Linked DNA regions of Homo sapiens: region 2 is linked to region 1. The links are contacts of gene promoters, found by promoter capture Hi-C in blood cells and fetal thymus (Javierre and others, 2016). All regions are on one chromosome and are shown on one strand. The core of a region is centred on a gene start or on the middle of the fragment in contact, and the rest is flanking DNA. Distances in the headings are between cores, read along the strand shown. Region 1 holds the start of UBE2W (ubiquitin conjugating enzyme E2 W). Region 2 overlaps MSC-AS1 (MSC antisense RNA 1).

Region 1 (6,904 bases), core at 1,328-3,827:
AGTTGTCTTAAAAGAGCCAAATGTTGCCATTAAGATAGTCAGGATATAAATTCTGTATAACAAAGATACAGAATAACCACACAGAAAGTAGGGTTGTCTTTCAAAAAGCTTGACATATATATTAAAATATTCTTAAAGATACTACCAGCAAATCTGCACTAGATATTTTAAAATACAAATAAAAAGGGAAAGACTTTTCAATAAATATAGGAAGCATCCGTTTTCCATTCCTCTAACCAGAAAACACAGAAGAATAGAGAGTGATAAGATTTCGATGGAACAAGGTGAAGGAAAAACTTAAAAGGGTGGTAAGAGTCTGAGATAGTAATACTTAGGGCACAGAAAAATGCACTATTGCACTGTCAATCAAGTATTTGTTTCCAATTCTTAAGACATCATGTAGGCCAGGCACGGTGGCTCACACCTGTAATCCCAGCACTTTGGGAGGCCAAGGCAGGCGGATCACCTGAGTTCGGGAGTTCAAGACCAGCCTGACCAACATGAAGAAACCCCGTCTCTACTGAAATACAAAATTAGCTGGGCGTGGTGGTTCATGCCTGTAATCCCAGCTACTCAGGAGGCTGAGGTGGGAGAATCGCTTGAACTCGGGAGGTGGAGGCTGCGGTGAGCCAAGATCGCCCCATTGCACTCCAGCCTGGGCAACAAGAGCGAAACTCCATCTCAAAAAAGAAAAAAGACACCATGTAAAGTTCAAGTTCAAGATTACCAACCTCTCTCTTACAAACAAATCTGCCTTTTCCAGATACTAAATCTAACGAGATGACACACTACGTTCTCTTGTCAAATACAAGTGTTGTGGATTTTAATCTTAATGTTTAGCCTCAAATAATGTTTTAATCTTAATACAGATAATAATCTTAAACTTGTCATAAAAAATGTTTTAATCTTAACACAGATAAAAATCTTTAAGTGGTAATGTAGCCTATTGCATCTACTGTTCAACTAGCATTCCACTGTTCCTTTTTTGGCCTCAAATGACGAAACTTCTCCAACGTCTCTGGGGAGACTAGTGTAAAGTATAATGTTTCCTGAAATTGTTCCTGTTTTTTCCCTGCACCATTCGTGATATCTCTTCAACTAGAAATGTTACATAAAACTTTTCTGTTCTGCAGGCAAGTCCAGAGGGAGAAGCAAGGTAAAGAGAATATTGTAAGGAAAACAGGTTGAAAGGGGAATAACATAAAAGCACAGGAGTAAATGTGAAGCAAAGCTATATTTGTACAAAAGAGGAAGAAGATGCAGAAAAGGGAAGAAAAACACTTTTAGCAGAGTAAAGAAAAAAAAATGGAGGAGGAACAGAGACTTGCTTCTTCCAGAAACAAAAGCAAAAAACACTTCTAAGAAAATGTGGTCTCTTTACCCAAGGGGATATTATGAAAACGCTAAAGGGTACTCAGCTGACACTCCTATTGAGCGTTCTACTTTCTCTTCCAATGCCTTTGATACCGCTAGTCTTCACCTGTGAATTAAATGCAGGCTACAGATAACGCACTCAATCCCTGCACAACTACAATTGTGGTTGCCATCTTTGCCTGGAAACAAAAAACAAAAAAACCCACAACTCCCTAGATTCGGGAAAAAGGAGTAAATTAAGTTGGAAAGCCAGAAAACCACGCCTTGCTAAGTCGGGGGGATATGGCACAGGTTAACAAACGCCTCCTACCAAACTAAGGTTCCACTAAAGGTCTGGGAATAAGGGCAAAGAGATGTATAGCCTTATCGCGACCGCAAGGGTGGGGCCTTGCAGTGGGAAACAAAATAGAAGGCAAGCTATCCCGAGAGGTTTAAGGGGGCTGAGGACTCGGCTCTCGGGAGATCGCCCATCAGGCGGTGGACACGGGGCAGCTTCGAGAGGAAGGAGACAGTGGACTGCTGGAGGAATGTCCGCGAGAATACCGAGGCTGATGGAAATAGAAGATACCCACGGGCACAGGATTAAGAGTCAAAGGGAAGAAGAGAGGGACGGGGCCGAGCAGTCTGGGGGGCCCGGCGTGGGAGGCCGGAGCAGAGGCCGCTAAGCGCCGTCCGCAGCCAGCCGCCTTCTCCGGAGACGCATTCTCGGCTCCCGCACACTCAGCCCCCCGCCGCCCCTGCCCCGGCAACAACCGCGGGCGCAGCTGTTTCCGTCGGGCCAGGGACAGCGGGGGTAAAGGCAACCCTGGGGCTGGCGGGCAGCAGACTGGCAGCGCCCGTGTGTGTGTGCGGGGAGCCGATTCTGAGACCGCCAACGCCAGACTTTGCCCTTTCTTCCCCAACCCTCCTTTATCACCCAACTTCCCGGCCGGCTGGTGTCCGCTTCGACCGACGGATACCGCACCCCCCACAACGCCTCTCGCCGCCTCTTACCCCTCCCCCGACGCCCTGAGCTGAGGGAAAACAGGCCACCCGGACCGATCCCGAACCCGCCCGGGTGTCCCCGAATCGCGGACGCCACCCCCGCCCGAACGCTGGCACTCTCTCGGCGGCTCCCTGGCCCGCCCAGATGCAGCAAACTCCTCTCACCTGCATTGACGCCATGATGGAACCATCCCCCCAAGACCGGCGAGGCCAGAGACGCAGGGGGAGGAGCTGCCGTGCTCGCGTCACGCCGCGGGGGCTCAACATCCCGGGCGCGGGGGCGGGGTCTGCGATGGGAAGGGGATGGAGCGAGGGGATTGGCTGGCGCGCAGGGCGGACGGGAGGAGGGGCTACGGGGCGGGGCGAGGGCGCGGTAAATGGCGCTCTGAGTACTTTCTGTCTCAGTCCGGCTGGCCGCTCACGCGTCGGGCCCCCATTTACTCTCGTTACTGAGGAGACACGGCTCCAGTTTTGACCCGACTACGGTTGTTTTCTTCGTGTGTACCGCGAAATGCTGATGACGTCCGGTTCCGCGCAGTTTTTTTCCTATTTCGTTTCCAACCACAGTTGTGCGGTTCACAGATTTTTCCCTTGGGATGTGTTTTCCATACCTCCAAGCCCACTCTCAGAGCCTTGGGGCCCCATAAAACTTCATGCGCAGCTGCTTTCTGGTATTTGCAGACCTGGAAGGCTTCTCGTATTCTTAATTTGGGGAAGAGAGACATAGGTTTCCTTGTACAACGGGATGAGGATTTAAGAGCAGAACGACACTGATATTTTAAAGGCGAGGGTATTTAGATTTGTGGAGCTGAAACTTGCCTGAAAAGGGAGACAAAATTTGGAAGTTTGTTGTGTGCAGTTTCTGCCCCTTACCCCCGCCCTTCACTTTTAAACTGCGCATATATCAACAATAGTTACGGTTGTTGCAGCAGTCTAAATTTGATTATCAGAATTGACCCTAGGCATGAATTTTTTTTTAAATATACCAATGTCGTGTTATATACACTTATACCATTATGTCCAGACTTCTCTTAAGCATAGTTCGTGGTGGGCAGTTTTGTGGTCATTTAGGGATGAACTTGGGTAGGGAAAGCTGAGCATACATAATTTATTTTAGGAATGCACCAGTTCTGCCAACATTTATCAGAAGTCACGTTTTTAAAAAGCTATTCTGGAACTGAAGATGTCATTGGTTTATAAGAGGAAAATGGAAGCCAAAAGCTTACACCTCATGCTCTATCTTTAAAAATTAAGGTGGCAGACACAATGAGTAGAAGGCTTTTATGTTACCAGAATGAAGGCTTAAAATCTGTCATTTTATTGACTCGGCTTTCTTTTTAGAAATTTCTTTAAGATATAAAAGCAATGTGGAATATCACTCTTTCACACTCTTAAAATAGATTACGTTCTCTGGAACTTCTCTAATCTGAAATGTGTTCAAAAAGGAAAAAGATCTTTAAAATACGCCAGTTAGTCTATGGTATAATATTAAACACTATTCATCACTAGAGAAGTTATGGTGGTATACCCTCCCCTTTCTCAGATGTCCACCTTAATGCCAGAAATGAGCGGAGTTTCCCTTTGTTGTGCAAAATGACTGTGTCCTTGAGGGATGTTTGGATGCTCTTGGTAAACCGGAATCAGCCAGAAGCATATCCGGTGTTAGCCTTGTTGTGTCATCAACATTACAACAGTGAGGAAACCCACATATTCCAATGAAAGAGGAAAACTTAAAGAAGAAGTTTCCAGTGTATTTTCTTTGAGATATATTTATTCCTATGACCTCAGAAGATCAGCTTTTACCGTCCAAGGTTCACTTTGCCTAAAAGCTGATTGTTCCTGTGGAAACAGTAGCATCGGATGACCCTACAAACAAAGCATTATGACATCATCAGAGCCAACAACCTGGCATGACAGATACTAATAAGGAAAAAAGAGGTTACAAGAATTCTGACACTCATCACAGTGGATCCAATATCTGGTCCCTTGGGTTTCATATATGTTAGAAGTATCTTCTCAGGAGGGAAAAGTCAATGCCAGTCATATCCTTTCTAGGTAATACTAAATAGCACATAATAACCTGTCTTCTTTTTTTTTTCTTTTTCTTTGAGACGGAGTCTCAGTCTCACCCAGGCTGGAGTGCAATGGCGCGATCTTGGCTCACTGCAACTTCTGCCTCCCAGGTTCAAGTGATTCGAGTAGGTGGGATTACAGGCGCACACCGCCACGCTCTGCTAATTTTTTGTAATTTTTTTGTATATTTTGTAGAGATGGGGGTTTCACCATGTTGGCCAGGCTGGTCTCGAAGTCCTGACCTCGTGATCCACCCGCCTCAGCCTCCCAAAGTGCTGGGATTACAGGTGTGAGCCACTGCGCCCGGCCATTCTTTTGTTAATATTTAATAAAAAGATCCTGACATAGGAGCCAAAACAGTGACTTACAGATGGTATGGGGGGTATATAATTATCTCCAGTGAGCATGTAATGTTAATATCTAAAACACTATTATGCCATGTTTGAAGACTAGGCTCATATTTCTACAGAGCGAGGCTTACTATCATTACTATCAGATAGGCAAAAGTTAAAATGTCTGACAGGATAATGCCAGTGCACTCCAGTCTAGGTGACAGAGCAAGACCCTGTTGTCTCAAAAAAAATATCTGACAATACCAAAAGTGAGAGAGGAAGTGGAGCTCTCATAAACTCTATAGGAGTGACACTAGTGCAATCACTTTGGAAAATAGTTCGGCAATAATGAAGTTAAAGTTTCCCATATCCTTACTGGATCTTCTTAATAGCATCATATGAGTTTTATATATATTTATATATATATTATAAATATATATATTTATATATAATATAAAATATATATATTATATATTTATATATATATTTATATATATATATATATTTTTTTTGAGACGGAGTCTCAGTCTGTCACCCAGGCTAGAGTGCGGTGGCGCGATCTTGGCCCACTGCAACTGCAGCCTGCCGGGCTCAGGTGATTCTCCTGCCTCAGCCTCCCTAGTAGCTGGGACTACAGGCATGTGCCACCACACCTGGCTAATTTTTTGTATTTTTAGTAGAGACGGGGTTTCATCATGTTGCCCAGGCTGGTCTCGAACTCCTGGCCTCAAGTGATCCACCTGCCTTGGCCTTCCAAAGTGCTGGCATTACAGGGATTACAGGCCATGCTTGGCCACGTAAGAGTACATTGAACAAATGCATATGTTAACATTGTTTGGATCTAGATTCAAACAAACTGTAAAAGAGATATTTTTGAGACACCTGGAGAAAATTAAATATAGAGTAGATATTAGAGGATATTAAGGAATTATTATTTTTGTTAGATTTGATAATGATGTTCACTTTTTCATTTCCACAGCTATTAGAAATGTCCATCAGCTTACGAGGAGATTCTCCCTCATCTCACAAACTACCTGCATCTCCACTTCCCTGGAAGAAAAAAAAAATCTGGACATACCCAAGCTGTGTATGTGCCTGAGATCTTCCCTTCCAAGGTAAAGAGAGAGCCTGAGACAGGTCTAAATTAGCATCTGGACTTTCTGCTAGTAAAGAAAAGGAAATATGGGAAACTAAATAGTAACATTAAAGGACCCACAAAGGGACTACTGGGTAAGTGCTATAATGGATAATGTAATGTGATTTATGAATGCTTTTGTTCTAGTGATTTATTAAACTGGGAAGTCAGAAGCAGTCCTGTGAACATTTGTTTGTTGAAGCATGAAAAGGCAGAATTGATGAGTCCTTGCTTGAGTCTATGCCTCCACCCAGTAGTTTGTTCTTAGTCTCCTAGGGGCTGATCTCAGCAGAGAAATGGAGACAGTTCAGTCACCAACAGTTTGTTACTGGATTTTGGAAAAGGTACCAAAGTAAGAATCCAAGGCTTGTATTCTTATCTTAGCTCTGTGATTAACAAGCTTAGGTAAGGCTTCTAATCTTTCTGGGTTTCTTTCCTTATCAATAAAATGCGCAAGTCAGACTGCATAATCTTTATGGTTTCTTCCAAATTTCAAATTCCATGCATCTATTAAAGAGAATCAAAATTGTGCATGATTTGTCTAAAATACCATGTTAAAAAGTCTAAGATAAAATGAAATGGGAATTACATACCATTTTGAGTTTAAAAATCACTTTTGTAAATATATTAAGGAATGAACTTGGTTTTATTGCAATTTATGTAGAAATACTGGGAAGTAGAGGGGGCTTTGATTAACAATTTTAAAATGCTGATGCAATCCAGTCGAAATATAGATGGGATTTCATAAAGTAGCAAAAATTCTATATTCATAATTCAGAGTGATAACAAATGCATATCTATAAAGCAAAAGTGTGTTTTTAAAAGTAATTTTAAATCCCAGTCATTTCATTTAAGTCTTCTAATAAAGGATGAAGAAGATGAACAAAATAACAATGGTTTGTAAGTGTGACTTATTTTGAGTGTGACTTATTCTACGTGTCAAAAATAGTTGATTTATATACACATATAGTTTGCAAAGAAAACTGTGAATCAGGAAAACTTTTAC
Region 2 (6,904 bases), core at 1,387-3,886, 2.0 Mb before region 1:
TGCCTTGCCCAATATCACACAGCTAGTAAAAGTTAGGGCAATGACCTGACCCAAGTTTTGTACTCCAGGGCCTATTCTGGGTTTCAGATAGTACCAGGGTCTTTCATTTGCTTTGACTACAGGCTGCTAGGGTCTGAAGTACATGGTCTCATCACATGACATTTTTCACAGGTCCCATGAGGGACTTCACTGAGGGAAAAATGGATGGGACGTCGTTAGAAATTTTCTTTTCGTCCCCCAAATTCTCTCACCCTAAAATTGCAGTGCTTTTCCAAGCCTTACTTTCCCTACTGGCATAAAGGATTAAGCCAGAAATCCTGCTGGTGGTGTGGTGTAGGTCAAAGGAGCATGCCCAGGTGGAACACAGATCAGTGCCTAACAGATTGAAACATTTAACAATGCAGGCTTGGTTTGTTTTTTAAAAAGGGAGCCATGAGATGGGATGATAATTACACATCATAGAAAAAAGGCCATTTGTTGCCACTTCCTTCCTCCAACAGCATATTAAGTAATGGGTGAGAAACTCTAGAACTGGGTAGGTCATGTGGACTTAGGACTCAGGAAGAGCAAAGGCTTCCTCTGTCCTCTGTGAAGGCCATGCCAAAACTATGTAGTGAGTAGGTACTTAAGAAACAGCAGTGGGACCAACCCACAGCCTCCTGTTGCCTGGAGGAATTGCCATACCTTCGGCCAATTGCCTATACTTTTGATCTAGGAAAATGAATAATCTAGATCAGCACTGGCCAATATGGAAGCCATTAGCCACATTAGGCTATTGAGCACTTGAAATGTGGCTATTCAGGTACTATAGTGTAAAATGCATAACCAGTATTGAAAACTTACTATGAATAAAAGAATATAAAAGCTCTCATTAATATTTTAAAATATAAATTTATGTCAATCTGTGAGGACATTTTGGATCTATTAGGTTAAATGAAATATATTACAAAAATTAATTTCACCATTTAAAATTATTATCATATGGTTACTAAAAATGTAGAATTAAATATACCGGTCCCATTATATTTCTATTGGACAACTCAGGGATTAATCTCATGGATTAACTATACCCCTATGGACTGAGTATCTACTGTTGGTTGTGGCAAGGTGTTGGTGAGACCCACTCTCACCCACTGGGAGGGCACATTCTTGTGGAAATAAGCTTCTCTGTATTATCCAGACTGCGTCTTACCACGTGTATTCAACCTCCTGTCTATAACACACCCCACCAGACACACACACGTGCTGGGAAAATGAACGCTCCTCCTCAGTGGTGTGTTAGTCACATGGAATGCTAGTCCCAGTGTGTGTTGGCCACGTGGCATGCTAGTCACATGGGGAGCCAGTCAGGTGGGGACAGGTCACGTGTAAGACCCAGGGTTAGGTCTGGATAACCCAAGGCCTGTCCCTTGTCTGCACAAAGCCTTGGGCTCTGCTCCAGGCTCAGGGCAGCCTCTGTCCTGGTGTTGTGCAGGATGCCACCACTCTTCAGACCAGGAAAGGAAGAAAACTCCCTTCACCCGGGCTCTACCAGCCATCAGGTTGGGCATCCATGGAAATAGTCAAAGCCTACATGTGGAGTCCTTTGTCATCCACAACACAAACAGGCCTCTGCTGCTGGTTTATTTATCTAAGGATTGCAGCAAGATTTTTTACCCTTCCCTCCGAAAGTCATGAGGCCTTAGCATGGAGAAGCCAGTGCCTGGATGGTTTGTGGAGGTTGAAGGTGGAAAAGCCAGGCTTAACAAATAAACAATGAAAAATGGGGCTGGGGGTAGGCTGGGGAGAGGGAAAGCGATAAGACTCAGCCTTTCAGGAGAAAAGAAAAACGCCCTCATTGATTGTCTTGACAACAAAAACTGTAGGCAGCTTCTGCAGGAAATTTTTTTTAAACAATATCTCTAGATTTTAGGGAGCAGGTGCTGAGGCTTAACTGTCCTGGGAACCCCAAGTTCCAACTGGAATGCTGTGTGTTTCCTGTAAATGACTTTGATTACTCAATTGGCCTAGTATAGAAGCCCAGCTTTCAGAAAGTGAAGGTGCTGTAGTGAAGTCTTCTGTAGGAGGCCTGTTTACATAATCCGTGGCCCTCCATGATGTTGGAGAATCCTGAAGGATGTTGGAGAATACTAACCCAGTCCTAGTCTGGGTTAGGAGTGTGGCTTGTAGGTCTGAAAATAATCTTATTTTGTAAACCCCTGGAACAGCCTTTCACTCTTATGCAGAAGCTAAGAAAGTTCTGTCTCAGGGGATTTTCTCCTTTTAAGTACTTGTGGTTTTATTGGCAATACCTGGAAATGTGAAAATACTCTGGTACCAAAACAGCCCTTGAAATTGTAGCACACAGCTCTGGTCTCCAGTGTGTGGTCCCAAGCCTACCTTGGTTTAATTGTGGAGTTAACCCGGGAGAGAAATATCATCCTGCCATGTGGCATGTACTGAAAAGAGCCCCTTTTGCTGTGGACATGAGGAGATCTCTGCATTTATCAGCTGAGAGGCCTCAGGCCACATACTTATACTCTTGTAGCTTGTTTCTCTGTGTATAACCCATGAAAGTTGCCAGAGTTAAATGAGATTGCCAGCATGCAGGCTCCTGTGGAAACTGTGGAGCATTGTAGAAGGTCAGTTATTACATTATTATGCCCATTCTCTCTCCTGTAGGAGCTCATGTTTTCCCTGTTCCCTCTCCCAGTAGCGGGCCTTGCTCAAAGTGCAACCCCCAGCCATGGCTCATCCCCTATAGAACACCAGCTAAATGCCTCCTGGTGCCAGAAGGAAGTTCTCATGTAATAGATACTTCCTGGTGTCACAGAACAAGGATTCTGTCCTCTTTGTCAACCAGTCCCTTAACCGACTCATCTATAAAAGAAGGGCCTAACTTATTTACGTATGACCTTTGTTTCCCTAGTCCCAAGCCCCTCTGACCTCCAATTCTAAAGTGAGCTCTAACAGATGATCAAAACAGGGAGGTATTTTAGGAAATATGCCCACTTCTCATAGTACTTTTTCCCCCTTTGGCTCATTTGTGCTACTCTGTCCAGTTAGCAGAAACAAACAAATAAACAAAAATAACCCAACTACATTCCTCTTCAGGTTTCAGTTTTAAAGGAGGAACCCTTGAGGATATTGGAAACAGAACTACTTAAGGTATTCTCATGCTTTGTTTCATCACTCCGTTCCTATTTCTTCTTACATTGCCACCTTTAAGCAACTTCCTCTAGGAAAGGGACCAACAAAATTAAAATAAGTAAGAGGAAAACAAAAAGATTAAATGGTAAACTTAATGAAGGCGGAGGCTGTGTCTTGTTCATAGGGATATCCCTAGTGTCTAGCAACTCATGAAAGGTACTACCTAAATATTTGATGGGCCAGGCCCAGTAGCTCATGCCTGTAATCCCAGCACTCTGGGATGACAAAGCAGGAGAATTGCTTAAGCCCAGGAGTTCAAGACCAGAGTGGGATATATAGTGAGGCCCCATTGCTACAAAAAATTTTTTAAACGTAGCCAGGCATGGGAGCACCACACGTAGCCCGAGCTACTCGGGAGACTGAGGTGTGAGTATTGCTTGAGTCTGGGAGGTCGAGACTGCAGTGAGCCATGATTGTAACACTGTACTACGTGCTGGTGACAGGGCGAGATACTCTCTCAAATTATTTTTTTTCCATTTAACAAAAATAAATATTTGATGATTGAAAACTCTCACCAACACATGAACACAAGCCCATCTGCACTCATAATTAACAGGAGACAGGTACTCAACCCATCATTTGTCCTTTATTTAACCAACTCAGTGTATTACTATGTGTTCTACCCACTGATAGCAGTTATAAGGACTCTTTTACATTTCTTATTAACTGAATGGACTTCTAAGGAATATTTCCTCTTATCAAATGGAGTATATATCTTTCTATTTATTATACACTGTGCTTGCCACAACGCCCAGAGGAAGTCTAAATAACTCAACAATTATATTTATTATAAACATCCCAGTAACATTCTTTTCTCTATATGAAAATGAAATAGTGCTTTTAGTACCATTTGCTACCATTTTTTTTCCTGATTGAAAAAATTCAGAATCTTCATAAAATTTCAGGGGATCACACACTTACAAAGCTTAGATTAAGGAGAGCAAAGGGCCAAGTTGTGGAGCCCTTAAAAGTGGTTAATGGTTTTAATAATTTAATGGTTAAGCAGAGAAGGGGAATTCAGAGAAAAAAGGCAGTAATCAGAGAGGCAAGAGGAAAACCAAGAGAGTAGTGTTACTGAAAGCAAGGGAGTCATTTCAGAAAGTCATGGGTGGGGACTTTCAGTTGAGATGGTCTGGTAAGACCACATTTTGAAGCGTCGCCTGTGCTCCAAACACATAGCAGTGAGAGCTAAAATGTGAAAAGAGAAAAACTAAAAATATTCAGCCATGTCCAAAAGCAAGGAAAATATCTCTTTAGACGAGGAGTGGACCAGAAAATGAATGTTAAGTAGGGATGAAACTCCTGCCAGGTCCAGGAGTTGAGTTTCTTTGCAGATGGGGAACAAAGTGGTCTCATAAATGGAGGGAGGCTGACTTGGATAACTGCTGAAATTAGGATGTGGGAGAGGGTAAGGAAGCAAAGGGAGTAAACCCAGCCTGGCCAGGATATTGGCTCCATGACTGGGTCAGTTCTGATTCATTTTTTATCTTCATGATATGTCACATATTCCTGCCTGTTTGCATGCCTGGTAACTTTTGGCTGGATGCCAGACACCATGAATTTTGCCCTTTGGGTACTGGGAATTTTTTGTATTCCACCAAATATTATTGATCTTTGTTCTCAGATGCAGTTGAGTTACTTGGAAATAATGATTTCTTTGGGTCTTTAAGATGTGTAGAAGGAACCAGAGCAGTGTTCCTTCTAGAGCTAATTGTCCCCCATTGCTGAGGCAAGACTCTTATAAGCACTCAACCTAATGCACTGGGAACATGAAATTTTCCAGTCTGGCTAGAACAGATATTATTCCTGGCTCTGTGTGAGTAGCTGGCTGTGTTCCCTTTCATCCTTTTTGGTGGTTCTTCCTTCAGCCTCTGGTAGTTTCCTCACATGCTCGTGATGATTGGCTGAATACTCCAAGGGCACCCTCTGCAGATCCCCAGGTTCTTTCTCTGTGCACCTCTCTTCCCTCTGCTACCCTGCCGGGTGAATTCTAGCTACTTTGGTCTGCCCAGCCTCTCAGGTCTGTCTTCTCAACTCAGGGAGTGTGTTTGGCTCTCCTGGGTCCCCTTGTCCTGCTCCACAGCGTGGAAACTCTGTCACGGCACCGGCTGGGACAGTTGTAGGGCTTCCTTTGTTTGTTTCCCATCTCTCAGGGTTCATTGTCCTTCATTACCTCCTGTAGAATGTTTTAAGAACCATGGTTTGATACATTTTGTCTGTTTTAGGGAAGTTTCAGGTAGAAAGTTAAGTCTTATCCCTGTTACGCAATCTTAGCCCCAGGTGGAAGCCTTTGGAATGGCACCTTTATAGGAAACGTATTTTATTTTATTTTTGTTTTGTTTTTAAGAGTGATACCTGCTTGAGCATGCTTGTATTTTGAGAGGAAGATACTGGAGAAAAGAAAGAGATTAAAGATATTAAAAATATGGGGAGGGGATTAAAGATATTAACATATGGGAAAAATATATTAAAAATATGGAAATAGTGATGGAGCAAATCCCACAGGAAATGGAGGCTGATGAGTTAGCCTTGAAGAAGAGGATGTACATATCTTTTTGCCTGAAATACTGTAGGATGTCTCTGTAGATCAGTAGAGATTTGTAATGGGAAGTTAAAGAAGTTAGTCCCTGATGGTCTCTGTTTTCTCAGTGGAATATGAATTAAAGTTGTCTACATAGAATAGGTGGGTAGACATGAGTTACTAGAATCAACAGAAATGGGAAATGTGGGGAATAACCATTCTGGAGAATATAAAAAGAGTCTAAGTAGGGGTAAGGAAATGTATTTCAAAACAGTGTTAAGGGCTTTGATGACATTGACTGATGAGCACTTATACCCATTAACAAATGTGAAGTTATCTAGCACAGTGATTCACATGGAGTGGTTTTCAGCTAGAAATAGCTGAATCTTAACAAATTAACCTGTTTATATTTTCAATAGCAAGAACTTGCAAGAATGAACTATTTATGGGACCATTAAGTTTTGATGAGGTAGAGATGCAATTTAGGAACTTGGAGTTCAGGGGAAATACTCTTGGAGATTTAGATGAAGATTCTACAGTTGGGGACCCATGGTATGCAGGAGGGAGGCAAAATGAAGCCATACTTTTAACTCTTTGGGGTAGGTGGAGAGGGAAGGATTTGCAAAGTTGCAGTATCACTATATTGCAGAAATGTTGGGGGTGCCACTGACAGAATATAATATGGAGTGATCTATATATTTCTCAGATCTTTCAGTTGTGCGTTATCTATGTAAAATGGACTTAACGACAAAATACATGAATGCATGCATACACACAGACATACATGCAAACTATTTTTCAAAACTTAGGCTCTCTGGAGATATTAGCAGATTTCTTTCAACATATTCCATAGGCATTTGGAACACAGCAAATTTAGGGTATTTTAAATCAATAATAAACTTATGATTTCTTCATTTTTGCTATAGGGAACTCATTAACATGTAGTTTAACAGGGAGAAAAAGCAGAGTATGTCAGATTGCACCCCCATACCCTTATATTCTCATTTTAAACATTAATATCCCCCATATTTTACAGATAAAGATATTGGAGTTAAGAGAGATGAAGTTCCTTGCTGAAGAATACAAAGATAATTGAAGAGGAACTCAGATGTCTAGAATGAGAGTCTAGTGCTCTTGTTGCTATATCATGTCCATTATGGTTAATTTTATGTCTCACCTTGGCTAGGCCATTGT

The links. The method cuts DNA at HindIII sites, captures the fragments that hold promoters and counts their contacts. A CHiCAGO score of 5 or more calls a contact.
Region 2: a contact is called between a fragment that was not itself captured here and the fragment with the promoter of UBE2W in region 1, in 1 of 17 cell types (M2 macrophages). The highest score is 5.3, in M2 macrophages.

Annotation. Positions count from the first base shown.
Region 1 is chr8:73,876,285-73,883,188 of GRCh38, forward strand. It overlaps UBE2W (ubiquitin conjugating enzyme E2 W), which reads right to left and starts at 2,578. Exons shown (of 6, transcript NM_018299.6): 1 at 2,524-2,578. The coding sequence starts at 2,538. LINC01617 (long intergenic non-protein coding RNA 1617) reads left to right here and starts at 2,698. Exons shown (of 3, transcript NR_147034.1): 1 at 2,698-4,413; 2 at 5,743-5,878; 3 at 6,046-6,790. RefSeq lists enhancers at 1,261-1,310, 1,787-2,664 and silencers at 2,051-2,310, 2,331-2,380, 2,521-2,810. The HindIII fragment of the contact is 3,471 bases long and covers 107-3,577 here.
Region 2 is chr8:71,847,420-71,854,323 of GRCh38, forward strand. The region is part of intron 2 of MSC-AS1 (MSC antisense RNA 1); the gene reads left to right. Among named protein-coding and RNA genes, the nearest start is that of MSC, 6.5 kb to the left of the region's middle. RefSeq lists an enhancer at 4,098-4,187. The HindIII fragment of the contact is 2,952 bases long and covers 1,161-4,112 here.